Linked DNA regions of Homo sapiens: regions 1 and 3 are each linked to region 2. Evidence: promoter capture Hi-C in human tissues and cell types (Jung and others, 2019). All regions are on one chromosome and are shown on one strand. The core of a region is centred on a gene start or on the middle of the fragment in contact, and the rest is flanking DNA. Distances in the headings are between cores, read along the strand shown. Region 1 overlaps BTRC (beta-transducin repeat containing E3 ubiquitin protein ligase). Region 2 holds the start of NPM3 (nucleophosmin/nucleoplasmin 3). Region 3 has its middle 13 kb from the start of BTRC.

What was found. Contacts are between HindIII fragments. The study calls those that stand out against the background at their distance.
Region 1: a fragment that was not itself captured here is called in contact with the fragment with the promoter of NPM3 in region 2 in 1 of the 25 tissues and cell types used here (neural progenitor cells).
Region 3: a contact is called between a fragment that was not itself captured here and the fragment with the promoter of NPM3 in region 2, in 1 of the 25 tissues and cell types used here (lymphoblastoid cells).

Annotation. Positions count from the first base shown.
Region 1 is chr10:101,525,651-101,528,542 of GRCh38, forward strand. It overlaps BTRC (beta-transducin repeat containing E3 ubiquitin protein ligase), which reads left to right. Exons shown (of 15, transcript NM_033637.4): 6 at 363-549. Among named protein-coding and RNA genes, the nearest start is that of POLL, 61 kb to the right of the region's middle. The HindIII fragment of the contact is 3,858 bases long and covers 1-2,892 here.
Region 2 is chr10:101,782,038-101,785,101 of GRCh38, forward strand. It overlaps NPM3 (nucleophosmin/nucleoplasmin 3), which reads right to left and starts at 1,409. Exons shown (of 6, transcript NM_006993.3): 1 at 1,236-1,409; 2 at 802-887; 3 at 441-560; 4 at 221-314. The coding sequence starts at 1,353. It overlaps OGA (O-GlcNAcase), which reads right to left. Exons shown (of 16, transcript NM_012215.5): 16 at 2,413-3,064. RefSeq lists an enhancer at 337-976. The HindIII fragment of the contact is 4,177 bases long and covers 1-2,446 here.
Region 3 is chr10:101,339,797-101,342,828 of GRCh38, forward strand. No RefSeq gene overlaps it. Among named protein-coding and RNA genes, the nearest start is that of BTRC, 13 kb to the right of the region's middle. The HindIII fragment of the contact is 3,205 bases long and covers 149-3,032 here.

The DNA.
Region 1 (2,892 bases), core at 274-2,773, 260 kb before region 2:
ATCATAGAGTTTGAGATGCCATCCATAGAACATCCCCTAGTGCTGAAATCCATATAGATAGATGTGAATTGTTTTCTGGAATCCTTTTTATTTTTAATGTCTTGGGGGGTTTGCTGGTTGTTAGCTTTAACTTCCTTATCTAAAGGAAGATGGAAAATACTGTTCATTTCTGTAACCTTATGGAAAAATTATTGACACTCATTTTACCCAAGCCTCTGTTTGAAAAAGAAACTGGACCACACTAGGGACAATGATGTGCCTTCATAGCAGAACAAATGCTGTTCTGTTTTAAAGGACCTTTTGTAAAAAATCATTCGCCACCTTCTGTGTTCTTTTTCTTTGCCTCCTCCCCCTACTGAAAGCTCGGGGATTGGATCATATTGCTGAGAACATTCTGTCATACCTGGATGCCAAATCACTATGTGCTGCTGAACTTGTGTGCAAGGAATGGTACCGAGTGACCTCTGATGGCATGCTGTGGAAGAAGCTTATCGAGAGAATGGTCAGGACAGATTCTCTGTGGAGAGGCCTGGCAGAACGAAGAGGATGGTGAGCCTTTAACTTTTCTTACTCTTATACGGCTTCAGGACCTGGCCATTCACAGTCACTGAAAGATTTTTGGGGAGCCAATGAGACCACTTCTCATTTAATATGGTGATTTTGTTGATTTCTAGCTTAAAATGTAACAGAGAACAAATGTTCATATACTCAGCAGTTTTTCTTCTTACCTGTCACTCACAAAATGACATGATATTGTATTAATACTGCTTTGCAAAAAATAATGGAAAGCTGATCAGCCCTCCTGTTTAAAACATTCTGTTATCTGGGCAGAAGTTGGTATCCTGTGGCTGGGCACAGTGCGTTCACGCCTGCAATCCCAGCACTTTCGGAGGCCAAGGTGGGCAGATCACTCGAGGCCAGGAGTTTGAGACCAGCCTGGCCAACGTGGCGAAACCCCAACTCTACTAAAAATACAAAATTTAGCCGAGTATGGTGGCGTGCACCTGTAATCCCAGCTACTGTAGAGGCTGAGGCAGGAGAATCGCATGAACCCTAGGTTTCTTTCAGAAAATTTCTTGCCTTTATCTTATGCCTCTGGTGTTTTGTCACCTTTGTAATCAAAAATTATTTTTAAGCCCAAGTGGAATAAGAACTCTAGCCATCAGAAAAAGTGAAAATGAAATTAAGTATAAATCATTGTTTCTTCTTAAGACTTCTGTTTTTCAAGATTTTCTGACTTAATTCCGAATTCCCCAAAGCATCATATAGTTAGCAGTCTAAGAGACTTCACTAATTTTTTTGTTGTTCTCTTAACAGTACTATTTCATTAGAACTTCTGAAAGATATCTTTCTTTAAATACTTTTCTCTCAGAGTATGTCTCTAGAATGTCACTATAGGAAAGCTACGTAGTAATAGTTCACAAATAAAGGTGACATATTAAATATTCTCATTGACAGAAAAAATTATAATAGGCATGTGTGTGCTTAGTGATGTCCTTCCAAATTAATTTTATCAGTTGTTTATCTTGGATCATAAAGAGGAAAACAGTTAAAAGTAGAGAACACTTTTAAAAGATAAATATTCATGGGCCAGCTTTCCTTTGAATTTTCATGAAAAAGTAGTTGGCTCTCTTTCTTTTTTTCTATCTTTGAAATTTATTAACACATAATAAATACAATGACCTATAAATATTATACCAAATGCCTCAGATTTTTATCATTCTGGCTATTAGGAAGACTGTTTAAATTTTTCTCTCAAATTGAATTAAAGGAACAAAAAAACTAGGCAATTTTTAGGCTGTGTAACAAAGAATATTGTTGGCCGGGTGGGGTGGCTCACGCCTGTAATCCCAACAGTTTTGGAGGCCAAGGCAAGAGGATCGTTTGAGCCCAGGAGTTTGATACCAGGCTGGGCAACATATTGAGACCTCATCTCTACAAAAAAATCAAAAAATTAGCTGGGCCTGGTGGCGCATGCCTGTAATCCCAGCCACTCAGGAGGCTAAGGTGGGAGGATGGCTTGAGTCTGGGAAGTTGAGGCTGCAGTGAGCTGTGGTCATGCCACTGCACTCCAGCCTGGGCAACAGAGCAAGACCCTGTCTCTTTCTCTGTCTCTCTCTCTCTCTCTCTCTCTCTCTCTCACATACACACACACACACACACACACACAAAAGAATATTATTACTACTTCTCAAATATGTTTTTTAATTCTTATTTCGCTACATAGAAAAATAGAAATCTTTCATAACCTACTTCATACTTTGGAAATAAACTCTTTAATAGTACAACAAAGCAAATAAAAATGGAGTTATATGGTATTCGGGGTCCATCATTTTGCTAAGAGTGCTGGGACCAGCCTTGGGGATACAGCAGGCAGTTGCTTACATGAGAAAATTTTAGGGCAGCTGAGAAGATTTCTGTATCCCTCAGAAAAAAAGAATCTCGTCTCCAAATAACTCCTGAAATTTCAGTTAAGGAGATTCATTCCTTTAGCTATAAAGGTTCTGTTACCTGTTAAAATACATTGTGTTCCCATTTGGACTGTAAATGACAGTAAACCTTCATCATAAATTGGGAGTTTACTGAGTCCTTTTTTGAAGGCAGAAAGATCAAGAAGTAAGTGGGCAGTTCTTGGCAGATGGATGTGAAAATGCCAAAGGTAAAAGGCTCCACAGTTTTGCTTGGGATTGGCACTAAATGGCAAGATCTTTTATGTTAGTTACAAAGAAAAAACAATCATTGAGAAGATGGCTTTTGAGCCTTTCTAAAGGGTAGGTGAAGTAATCCAGGATCCAGCACTAATTACCACTTTTTTCCCCTATCTCTTTATCCACAGAAACCCATTCCCGCTCTTTTGAGTATCCTTCAGAGTTCTGACTATATCCCCTTGTC
Region 2 (3,064 bases), core at 159-2,658:
TTGGAGCTGGAGAAGTTGGGCCATGTTCCATGGAGGAGGTAGGCTTGAGTAGACGGAAAGGAGAGGGCATGTCATGCACAGGGCACAGCGTGGAGGGCACACAGACCTGTACAGGGCTGCACTGGGAGATGAGGGTGGGATGGGGCAGGAGTGCGGAGTGGGGGAAGCCTGATGGGAGAGTCCACTGGAAGCAAAGGAGAGGGCCCTCCCCTCTTCTCACCAATCTGGTGCCGCCCAGTGATCCGCACAGGGCCAGAGCCCGACTTCAGGCGGAAGGTTACAGGTGGTTGGAGCTGGAAGTCATCCAGACTGAGCTGGGAGGAAGACAAGGATGAAGGCCTGGCCCACTCCTAGCCCACCCCACACTGTAATGAGTGCTAACGTCCTCAATCCCCTCACCACCACCACCACCACCACCAAGGCAGAGCTGGGGAACTCACCATGGGTTGGCAGGACAGCTTGAGGTTGGCCACAGGGACTGCGATCTCCTGATGGTCATGGTTCCGGGCCACAACTTCTACCACATTACACTCGTCTTTGGCTCCCTCGGTGAGGCAGAGCTGGGAACGGTACACAGGGCCTCAGGGTCTCCTCAAGTGAGGGTTGACACCACAACTAAAGGCATCTACCCTAGCACCTGCCCAGCCTCAGAGGTCCCGGTTCACCTGGCCAGGGGAGCCGCCCATGCCGGGGGGTTAGGCTGAGGATGTGTCTCCAAGTAAAGGGGATCCGGAGGTTGGGTAGAGACCTATATTGCCTGCCTGGGCTTATTCATTAAAACCCCACTCCCCTGCCCCTCACCATGGTTAGTGCCAGCACGTGCTCCGCATCATCCTCTTCCTCTACCTTAAAGGTGAAGGAGCGGGTGTGGCCGGAGAGCTCACAGCCTGGTAGAAATAACAGTGAGTATGCCTGAGCGTGTGTACGGGGCTGGGCAGCGGGGGATGTCACCAACCCGCCGTCACGTGTAACCTTGGGCGGACGGGTCATTTACACGTCCACCTCCGTCTCTTCTCTCAGAACACCTGGGACGCTCTGCCGTGGGCCCCGCCCAACACATCTGGGGCAGGGATCTCGCCACCCCCTTTGGCTGTGCGTGCGAGGCCCCCTCTCCTGCGGGAACAGCGAAGCAGCCCTCCGCCCACACCCACGCCTTGAAACCCTCCGCATTCCCGCCTCACATCCCTACCTCTTACCGCCCCAGTACCACCCTCAGCCTCTCCCTTCACTAATACCGAAGAAAAAACTGTCCATAGTGACCGGGGCCGGGACCCGTAGGCCCCCGACACCCCCGGCCCGCGTTCGGCTCTCCTGACTCAAAAACGCTAAGGCAGCTGCAGTACCGGCGGCCATGCTGTAAGAGCCTTCTTCAAACTCCGCCCCCGACACGCACAAAGCCGGGGACCCTCGGCCAGTTCCGGCCCCGCCCATTAAAGGAGACGCACAGTCCTGGAAAAGAAAAGGCGCCGAGACCCCGCAGCCCTACCCGGAGCCCGCAGCTTCTGCTCATATTTTATCAAGACCGAAGAGAAAGGAAGTAACATCACAGAAGAATGGATTTGGGGTTTATGTTAACATCCTTGCTCATTTCCACGACCATGAGGGTGTCCACTTCCCCAAGCTCCTCGCTCTGTGTCGGAAGAGTGTCTCCCACTCTTCCAACCCAGGGTAAGCTTTCGTTAAAGGAGTTATAGATATAAAAATGTAAACCCTTCTTACTCCTCCCAGCAAAGGTGGGGTTCAGGGCAGTGCTTTTCTGCTACAAGCAAAGGAAATGCACTCAGATTGTCTTTGCCTCAAGAGAGCCGAGGAGCCTTAGGAATTTCCATCCCAACACGTCTGTCCTGTCTGTCCTCTCGGCTAAGCCTCTCTTAATTCTTCCTGCTCTAAAGACCCCGCAACTTGCTATGCCTTCACTGAGACTTAGCTGCTGGCACTTGCTAGCAGAGGACTAGTTAGCTCATGTGTGTTGGCTGTTCCTGGCCCACCCACGCTTTTTGAGCTTTTAATTCCAAATCATCCAGGAGTATCTTTGCGCCGTGGATTATTTTGTCAGTTTATGCTACTCGCGCCATCTTTCGCCTTTTAAGAATCAGGCAAACTGTGTGCTTTCTATCCTAATAGATGGCAAAACTCAAACTAGAGGCCCTATTTCACATCCAGGTTATAACTGTGGCAAGAGGGTGGGGTGGCTTGGCTAAAAACTAGTCTACTTTTCTTAGCTCTTGTCTTAATGAAAATCTGGAAGTCTTACTGGTGATGGAGGTAGGGGAGGGCTGCCTTCAAGATCCAATCTCTAACTTGGAACAGCTGTGGAGAGGAGAGAATACCTGCTTGTAGGTGAGGCATGAAAGAGGAGAAAAGGGAGGGGGCAGACAGGAAATAGATTCACACAATACAACACGACAAGCATTCACTTCAAGTTTTATTTTGCCTCTTGCATGGTCTTTTACAGTTCGTTTTCTACAGGAACTGAGCTCTGATCCAAACAATCAATAAAAATGTAATTCCAACCTTAATATTCATAACCAGGAAATAGCATAGCACTTCATGATCCTAGAGTGATGAAAGCAAGACCAGGGCATCTGTTTCACAGTCACCTGTGACCAGACCAGCCAACATGATTACTAAAAGCCAAGATAAAACCAAAAGCAAACTTGCTAAAAAATCCTGAATTCCATGAGGTTAACTCTGAAATCCTCCAAACAAAATGCTAGAATTGTCCACTAGTGTTAAGACGAGAAAACTGAGGAAAACTCAGCTGTCTTACTATCTGGTAAGAGTCTTCCCTTCATCTCAAGCCCTCAAAAATGCAAACTTGGTTCCAGCTTTACAACATACCATATCCTTCTATCGGTTAAAGGTTTCTAACCTAAAAACCTTCTCTCCTTTCTTCTCACCTATTTAGTGCATACTCAAAGGCTTTGGTTGGAAGTCACTAGGTACCACTAGGTACAATGCTTTAGGGCTCTCTCAAAGCCCACAATGGTGGAGTTCTGTGAAAGAAAACTTAAGTTTCTTTCTCTTTACCCCTCTCCCCTCACTCAGCTCAAAGTTAAACAGC
Region 3 (3,032 bases), core at 501-3,000, 440 kb before region 2:
CATCATCACCATCATCATCATTACTAGCATCTAATGTTTACTGAGTCCTTACCATGAGCTGGGGCCTGGGCAAACTGCTTTCCATAGATTGTCTCCTCCTGGTCCAGCTAAATCTGGACTACTGAGTCTAAACCAGAGGGTCAGTCTCCGGGGCTCTGCTGTGAATGAGGCAGACTCTCAGACCAGCACTGGAATCAGCAGGGAGAAGCCAGGGGTTGGGCATAAAGTTTAGACAGATTGCTGACAGTTGAGACAGGTTTGGGACAGTTCTCTGACAGAGACTGAAGAGTAATGTTTGGTCATGCGTCCATTTAATAACTATGTAGAAAAGTGCTTGCTAAGGATAAGGGAACTCTATGCTCAGGAAAGCTTTGAGATCAGAAACAGATCAGTACAGCACTTCGTGACCTTAATATACTGTAAGCTGCTTTTATAGTTATGAAATGATATGATACCAGACATTTGCATCCATATGAGCCAGAAAAGGGTGAAAGAAGTGGGTAAGGGCACACACAAAACAAAACTGACTATAAGTCAGTATTTTTGAAGCTGGGTAATGAGTAAAAGGAAATTTATTGTATTATTCTCTTTACTTTTTTATATGTTTGAATGTTAAATTCAAAGTTAAATATACATACCCTGGCCGGGCACCGTGGCTCACGCCTGTAATCCTAGCACTTTGGGATGCCAAGGGGGGTGGATCGCTTGAGCTCAGGAGTTCGACACCAGCCTGGGCAACACGGTGAAACCCCGTTTCTACTAAAAATACAAAATTAGCTGGGTGTGGTGGTCAGCACCTGCAGTCCCAGCTACTTGGGGGCTGAGGCAGGAGGATCCCTTGAACCTGGGAGGTCGAGGCTGCAGTGAGCCAAGATGGCACCACTGTACTCCAGCCTGGTGACAAAGTGAGACCCTGTCTCAAAAATAAAATAAAAATAAATAAATAAATACACACATCCATATTCTTCCATGCCTTTTTTCCTTTTCTGTGTGTGTGTGTGTGTGTGTGTGTGTGTGTGTGTGTGTGTGTGTGTTTAATTTTAGTTGTTTTCTTTTTCCTGGTTGTTTTGTTATTCTGAATTAAGGTGCTTTAAAAAAAATAGCCAGTTCAGGCAAGCATGGTGGCTCACGCCTGTAATCCCAGCACTTTGGGAGGCCAAGGCAGTTGGATCACTTGAGATCAGGAGTTTGAGACTAGCCTAGCCAACATGGTGGAACCTCATCTCTACTAAAAATACAAAAAAAAAAAAATTAGCCAGGCGTGGTGGTACCTGTAATCCCTACTCAGGAGGCTGAGGCAGGAGAATCACTTGAACCCGGGAAGTGGAGGTTGCAGTCAGCCGAGATCATACCAGGCTGGGCGACAGAGTAAGACTCTATCTTAAAAAAAAAAAAAAAGCCAGTTGGGTGCAGTGGCATAGCTACTTAGGAGACTGAGGTGGGAGAATCACTTGAGCCTAGGAGTTCAAGACCAGCCTGGGCAACATAGTGAGACCCTGCCTCTAAAACGAGAGAGAGAGAGAGAGAAACGTACATAATGAATAAACAAGCAATCAATCATTTATTTAAAAATTTTAAAAAATAGCCTATCTTAGTTGCGATAAGGACAAACCAAGTCAAATGGTTTTTTTGGGCCAGTAAGAAAAAGATAGTTATGGGTTCCTAATATCCAGGTGCCTATAAAGGGGACATTCATAGGAGAGTCCCATGAAGACAAATAGTCTGGGGTGGGAGTCCAGACCTCTTTGGACAGCTGCCCTGGTTCTCTCCTTCCCTTTGCTGCCCCTTCTCAGGGTTGTTCCTCTCAAAATATGTTTCTTGATGCATGAATGACATTGCATTTAATTTAAGAGGCAATTCTCTGATAAGAAAGTCCTGCCTTTTCCCCACTTCCTGCCCCAACCTGCTCCCAGACCTCCTGGGGTTATAGCCTGGCTATCTGGATTTCTCTCTGCCTACTAATTTGCTTGTCATCAAAGATCCTTCCCACTGAAAGCCCCCCTTGATTTTTTTCCTGGTACCTGCTTCTGGGGCCTCCCTCAATGACCTGCCCTGCCCTGAAGTTCTGTCCAGCTGCCAGCTCTCATCCACCCCCAAACCAGTCCCATGCTAAACTCTTCCTTTTGCCTTTCTAGAGGCACTCTCCATCCTTTCCCAGCCCTCTCTGGACCTGGGAGATGAACACAAATGGACTGCATCAAAGGCTCTCTTGTCCTCTGGCTTCTGTTTGTGTTTAACCAAAAGGAGATATCAGAAGATTAAAGAGCAGGAGGATGCTGGTATATGATTCTTCCAGATCCCTCCCTGCTGGGCTGCCATGAAAGGGCTACATCCCTTTTTGAATGCCATAGCTATGGTCAAGTGGTCCTTTCCCCACAGCCACCTTCTCAGGGTCTTGGTAACTATGCCCTTCCCTTGGCCCTTGGGGCCTAGGAGTAATATGGTTGTCTGCTGTTGCTAGCTGAGGGGTATGCACTAGCCCTTGTTGGTCTCCCTTCACTCTGTCCACACCTTTGCAAATAGGTCCTTAATTAAACCCTTCTGAAATTAATCAAGTCTACATATGCCAGGACTGTGACTGATACAAATCCATACTATTGTCAAAAGAGCCCTAGTTAGTATCTATTTTTATGTCTTGTTTCCTTCACATAATGGAAAGCTTCTTGAAGGCAAGGCCCATCTCTTATCTGCAGAGTGATAGACACAAGGAAAATAGTGAGTTTTTAACACTGACTCTTAGAAGTAATCCTGACCTCGATCACCTCTTCCTCAAAAGGCATTTTTTAGGAGGGAAGGGGTATCCAACGAAATATAGCTGCAGACGATGTAAATGTCTGGGAAATTAAAGCAGCCAGATAAAGGAAATCACCAGCTTGAAGACATGGTAGTGGGGGAGTCTGGACAAATGCCAGTTAAAGATAAAACAACCTGTTCAAACTTTGACTAAACTATACAAAATAAAGTATGTTAAACAATGTTGGTCAAAAAGTGTCTAAGAAATCCAGGCACAGAAAGCAAGGGAAAGATAGCTT